Regions from separate parts of the Homo sapiens genome. Here region 2 is linked to region 1. The links are contacts of gene promoters, found by promoter capture Hi-C in blood cells and fetal thymus (Javierre and others, 2016). All regions are on one chromosome and are shown on one strand. Each heading gives the region's core, a stretch centred on a gene start or on the middle of the fragment in contact. The rest is flanking DNA. Distances are from core to core; before and after follow the strand shown. Region 1 holds the start of NUDT16 (nudix hydrolase 16). Region 2 holds the start of SRPRB (SRP receptor subunit beta).

Evidence for each region. Contacts are between HindIII fragments. The CHiCAGO score rates a contact against its expected background, and 5 or more counts as called.
Region 2: a fragment that was not itself captured here is called in contact with the fragment with the promoter of NUDT16 in region 1 in 1 of 17 cell types (total B cells); the score reaches 5.4 in total B cells.

What each region holds. Positions count from the first base shown.
Region 1 is chr3:131,380,222-131,383,053 of GRCh38, reverse strand. It overlaps NUDT16 (nudix hydrolase 16), which reads right to left and starts at 1,280. Exons shown (of 3, transcript NM_152395.3): 1 at 1,112-1,280; 2 at 739-1,008. The coding sequence starts at 1,249. NUDT16-DT (NUDT16 divergent transcript) reads left to right here and starts at 1,579. Exons shown (of 4, transcript NR_038976.1): 1 at 1,579-1,721. RefSeq lists enhancers at 272-840, 841-1,410, 1,702-1,971 and a silencer at 1,292-1,591. The HindIII fragment of the contact is 2,474 bases long and covers 689-2,832 here.
Region 2 is chr3:133,805,628-133,808,423 of GRCh38, reverse strand. SRPRB (SRP receptor subunit beta) reads right to left here and starts at 2,609. Exons shown (of 7, transcript NM_001379313.1): 1 at 2,422-2,609; 2 at 1,721-1,815; 3 at 601-678. The coding sequence starts at 2,575. RefSeq lists enhancers at 2,048-2,157, 2,188-2,237, 2,348-2,557, 2,698-2,757. The HindIII fragment of the contact is 771 bases long and covers 922-1,692 here.

The sequences.
Region 1 (2,832 bases), core at 31-2,530:
CAGGCCCAAGGCTCACACCTCACTAAAGCCTAGTGGCCCAACCTTCTGCAGGAAAATGACCCAAAACATATTATCTAGCTCTATCAATTAATCTTTCCCACATCTGCTTCTAAACCTCTAGTGGCTACTGCCTCAAAGATGTATTCATACCCTTTCACCAGTGGTTGTCAAAATGTGGTCCTCAGATTATTTGCATCAGCATTATTTGGGAACTTTTGAAAACTACAAATTCTCAGGTTTCCTCTCCCCCCGCCCCACCACCAATGCAGGAATGCTGAGAGAAATCGCTATTTTAATAAGACGCCCCGATGATTCTGCTACCTGCCAAATTTTGAGAACCACCTTCATACATAATCTATCTACTAGCCCTGCCTGAAATATCAGGGCCACATCTCCTACACAAGAAAAGCAAACCCCAAGAATAAAACCTAGGTTGCCACACCTAGATAATGTGATAATCTATCACACTGTCAATAGGGAACAGCAGAGAGACATGGATGAGTGTGTTCTAGAAAGGATCTCTCCTGGTAAAGGGTGGGAAAGACCTTTACAGAAAGCCCAGGTTGGCAGTACTAATTCAGAGTATAGATGATCACGATCCCAACTCCACCAAGAAAGCTGGGGAGAGGGCAAGGTCAGAGGGGCAAAGACTTTTCTCCAGGGATGCTTTCTTGGGGGAGAGAAAGCTTTGGGAGAAGAGGAAATTGGGAAAGGGACAGAGTCCCAGGCTGGTCCCACCTCCAGCCCGTGGTCCTTGGCGCGTGTTGCGCCGGCCTCCACAGCCAACAGCTCCTCGAGCGTCAGACGCTTGGCATAGAAGTGGGCCACAACGCGTGGCCCTGACCCGACGTGGGAGCTGCGGTAGTCAGTGCGCTCCACGCGGAAAGCGGCAGCCGCTTCGCCCAGCTCCTCGCGCAGCTCGCGGTTCAGCCCGTCCTCTAGGCTTCTGTCCTGCGTGTCCACGAATCCGCCGGGGAAGCCCAGGCGTCCATCGAAGCGCATCTGCATCTGCGGGAGGGGGAAGCGGGGATTGGCAGGGGCGCCCCAGAGGAGACCACCAGAGAGGGTGCGGGGCTCAGGCAGAAAGTGGCCGGGCGCGCCCCCTTCTCACCAGTATGGCGTAGCGCAGCGGGATGCGGCCGAAGAGCATCCCAGGGTCCGGCGCGTAGAGGAGAGCGTGGCACGCATGACGCCAGCCCGACCCCAGCGCCAGGGCCTCGCCTAGCTCCAGCCTGCGGGCTCCGGCCATGGCCGGACACTGCTCCTCTGCTGTCCCGAAGGCCCAATGGGCAGAGGGGCGGGTCTCACCTCGGACCAATCCGAGCCTGGGCGGTGCTGCAAGGCCCAATCCCTGCAGGGATAAGGGGAGGAACCTAGGCGCCTGGGGGCGGGGCGCCGCGACCGGTGCGGGAGGCAGCTAATCAGGGCGGGGCTTGCAGACCGGGTTGAAGTCCAGGGCCCAGGAACCCTAGGGTAACCGAAAGCAGCCTCTGGGTTGGGCCTGCGGTGGGGCGGGGCTAGAGGTGTGGCCGCGCCCTAAACCTGGCGCAAGGCCGGTACCTAAAGGCTCCTGGGAGCCAAAAGAGCAAGTCAGGGAACTAGCTTTGGTTGGGTTCGGTGGTACACAAAGCACAAGGCCTGGGTTGGGGTTAGGAGGAAATGAGACTTGCGGCGGGTCGGGGCTGAAGATGTGGCAGCGCCCTGAACCTGGAGAAAGGCTGGTACGTAAACGCCTGCGTCGCAATCTGGAGTCAGCTGGAGTGTCCCGGCAGGTGAGGAAGAGCTGGGGCGCTCAGTTGAGTGCTGGGAGCCAAAGAAGTAATAACTACCTTTGGTTGGGTGTGGTGGTACACAAAGCACAAGGCCTGGGTGGGGGTTAGGAGGAAATGAGGCAGGGTTGGCCTCAGACACCAAGGCCTATCCTAGGGAAATGGAGATGGACAGGCGCCATGGTCTGACAACTATCTTGAGTGGTGAAATTGAGGGGACTTGGTGACTGAGTGAATGGGGAAGAGGGAGCGCTGGGCTAGTGGTGGTTCCGAGTTTCCTGGATGTGGTGTCATTTTCTGAGAGGGGGAGAGTAGGAGAAGGGTGAGCAGTGATAAGTGTAGTTCTAAGGAATTGGGGTGGCCATAGGCAGTGGGCAGCTGATCGTGGGGGTCTGACGCACAGGGAGTGGCACATAGAGAAGTCACAGGGCAGTGAGATTTTCAGGGGAAGGGTGGGGGTGGAAGGAGCTGTGAGTGAAATCCTGTGGCACAGGACTGGGAGTGAGGAGGGGTGAGAGATAGAAGAAGCCTCCTAGGCTTTCTAGTCTTTCCCTCAAACCCCCTCAGACCTCTGAGCTATGAAGGAGGGTGGGTTACCCTACCACAAGGGCAGAGGCCTACTCAGGGCCTGATGCTGAGATGCAGGATCCCTCACTCCAGGCCAGGCCTTCCCCACCCTGCAGAGCGCCCCTACACCAGGTGTCGATATTGATTATGCAATAGAAAGCAGGAGGCAGCTCCTTGAGGGGGGCTGGGCATAAACTCACAGCCTGTAAGTGACGGCATATGGTGGGAAAGAGTCCGGACCCACCCAGAAACAGGTTTGTGACCTTAACAAGTCACTTAACTCTCTCAGATCCCAGCAGCTCATCTGTTAAGTGGAGATGATACCAACCTATTAGGGATGTTGAGATATGTTAGGCACTTAGAACAGTGCCAGGCAGAAAGTAAATGTAGCCATTCTTGGAGTTGAGGGTTGGGGCACAGTGCTATGTCTTACGTTGAGGAGCCAGGGCTGGGCACATACCTATAATCCCAGCACTGTGAGAGGCGAGGTGAGAGG
Region 2 (2,796 bases), core at 58-2,557, 2.4 Mb before region 1:
AGATGGTACTATGTATACAAATGTAGGACAATAAGAAAAGCCCAAGTTGTATCAGCCGTATGAGAAAAATAATGGGCAGAACAGCATTTAAAAAAAAACAACAATAAAGGATATACAGACATGTTTGTATATGCACAGAACATCCGGAAGACTACATACAAAAAAAAGTAAGTCACTGCTTCTGAGGAGAAAACTAGGTAGTGGGGAAAGGAAAGGAAAAATTACTTTTCACCAAATATCTTTTCTAACCTTTTGAATTTTTGTCCCATGTGCATGTATTACCTATTCAAAACTTAAAAGGTTTAATGCCCACTCTTAAGAACTCATTGTAAAGTTGGAAAGAAGACACAGAAACAAAAAATAAGAATAAAATGTGATATAACATTACTGTACATTAAGGTACAACAATGCAGAGGAGGGCATGATTAAATCTACTGTACAGATTGTCAAGAGAATTTGTCACAAAGAATATGTTTCTCCATAAAAATAAGCTACAAATGGTACTTACATCCTCAGATGAACTCATCCTAAAAATGTCCTTAACTGACACACCACAGTAAAGTAAGACTGTCAGACTCCAAAACTCCACAAACATCTTACCCTGTTATTGTTGACTCTGTATACAGCACAGCTGTCAGTAATGGACGTCTGAGTGTCTCTATAAAGGCCTGTTAACAACTGTAAAAAAAACAAGATGGGTGATATTCAACATTTTAATAGCACACCTAAATTGAGTTATATTATTCTAAGTCTCCCAGGTGTAAGGTTAAGTAAATGAATGCTGCTTCCGACAGGTGAAAAAGACGATATTGATTTTTTTTACCTGTAGAAAAAAATCTAATTAATTGCATATTTTACTCCTCAGTGGAATAAAAACAACATTATTCTCAAAAGACAGTTAGTGGCCAAATTTGCCAAGCTTCTGTAAAGATTTTTAACCAACAAAAATGATTTGAAGCCTGGGCAACATGGCAAAATCTCATCTCTACAAAAAATATAAAAAATCAGCCGGGCGTAGTGTTGCACGCCTGTAGTCCCAGCTACTCGGAGGCTGAGGTGGGAGAATCATCTGAGTCCCAGAGGTCAAGGCTGCAATGAGCAGAGATCTCGCCACTGCACTCCAGCCTGGGCATTGGAGTGAGACACTCCCTCAAAAAAAAAAAAAAAAAAAAAATGGAGGTATTTCTTTAATGGAAGGGAAATAATTTATACTCTCAAAAAGAAGAGTTAAAAAGCAGAAAACCTCTCCTATTCACCACATTAAAATACACTGTTAAAAATACTAAATGTATTAAAAATAAATATTAGTAAAAAGAAGCCTAACTAGCCCACTATGTCAAAGAAGGATCACCCTGTGAAAAAGTGTCTTCGATAAACTGTCCTAAGAATTTGTTAACGAAGGAATTATAAACTGTAGGACACTAGCTTCTATGCCTTCTGCTATTCTGGAATGAAACTAATTAAATAAAATCCTTGAATGTGATAAAGACTAAATATCAGCATCTGGCAAGGGCAAACAGAAAAAAAAAAGGAGAAATGACCAATATTTCTCAATTATGGGTTTCTACGAGTCTTTTTGTTCTCCCAAGTAAGTCAAGAATTAACTTCCAAATTTAACAGCATCAGCTTCTTTTACAAAATAAACCGTGAGATGACAGGAATACTGGGATCTATAAAATTTTCTATTAAGCTTAACAGGGGTGTCAATGAAATCATTTACCCTGACAAAGAGCAACGTTTTCCCGGAATCACAAAGGCCAACAAGAAGAACAGCTCTCTGACTGCTCCTTCTGCTCCGGATTAACTTCCAGAAGACTGTGGAATAGACAGAGAAAAACAACAAAAATTACGCCTTGGGAATCAGTATATGTGCATGGCTGGGGTGGGGAAATTCACAGAAGTCTGTGACGAAACACCTCATTCACCTGGAACTGACTTTTATCATAATGGTTACTATTGCTGTTGTTAGGGATCCACTGAGAGCCAGGCACTGTCAACTGTCAACTTTTCTTTGCAGTCCTTACTCTGACTGGGACTCAGGTGCTATCTCACTACCTTGGTATCCCAGCGCCCGCACGCAAACACGGGAGGCTGAAAGTTGGTGTCAAGACCCTGAGTCTTTGCAGTGAGAACAGCGGAAGGCGAGGAACAGCGCGCTCAAGCGTAACAGGGCAGATGACGAAGAGCAATCTGCGCCCCAAGGACCAGGACGTTAACTCCGGGGGTTGCCCGGCATCCCCCTTAACGCCCAGCTGCTGCCGCTGCTTCAGGAGAGAGGGTGGGGTGTAGACTGGGTGGGTCTCACCCTCCTGATGCCCTCAAGGCGCCCTCTCAGCCCCGCGTCCCCGGCCTGCAGCGGTGCAGCCAAAGCCCGGACCTCTGCCCGCCCCAAACCCGCCATGACCACCGGCCGCCTTTTACCTAGCGTCAGCAGCACCGCAAGAACCGCCACCACTACTGACAACAGCGTTGGGTCCGTCTGCTGCAGCTCCTGCCGCAAGGTGTCTAGGTAGGGCTGGAAGGTGCCCCCGGCACCGCCGCCATCTGCCACCCGGCGCGAGTCCGCGGAAGCCATGGATGAGACGCGTGGTCCCCGGTACAGCAAAAGCGACGTGGCCCTGCACTCTGCGCAGGCGCGGGGAGCAGAGCCTCACGCGAATGGTGGTTCCTAAGCCATAGTCTCTCCCTCAGCCGCGGCGATCCCCCAAGTGCTTGATGGGAGTTGTAGTTCTCTGGGACTCCGTCCTCCTACAGAACGATAGGGGCAGACAGGTTATTTGTCGAGGGACACACACA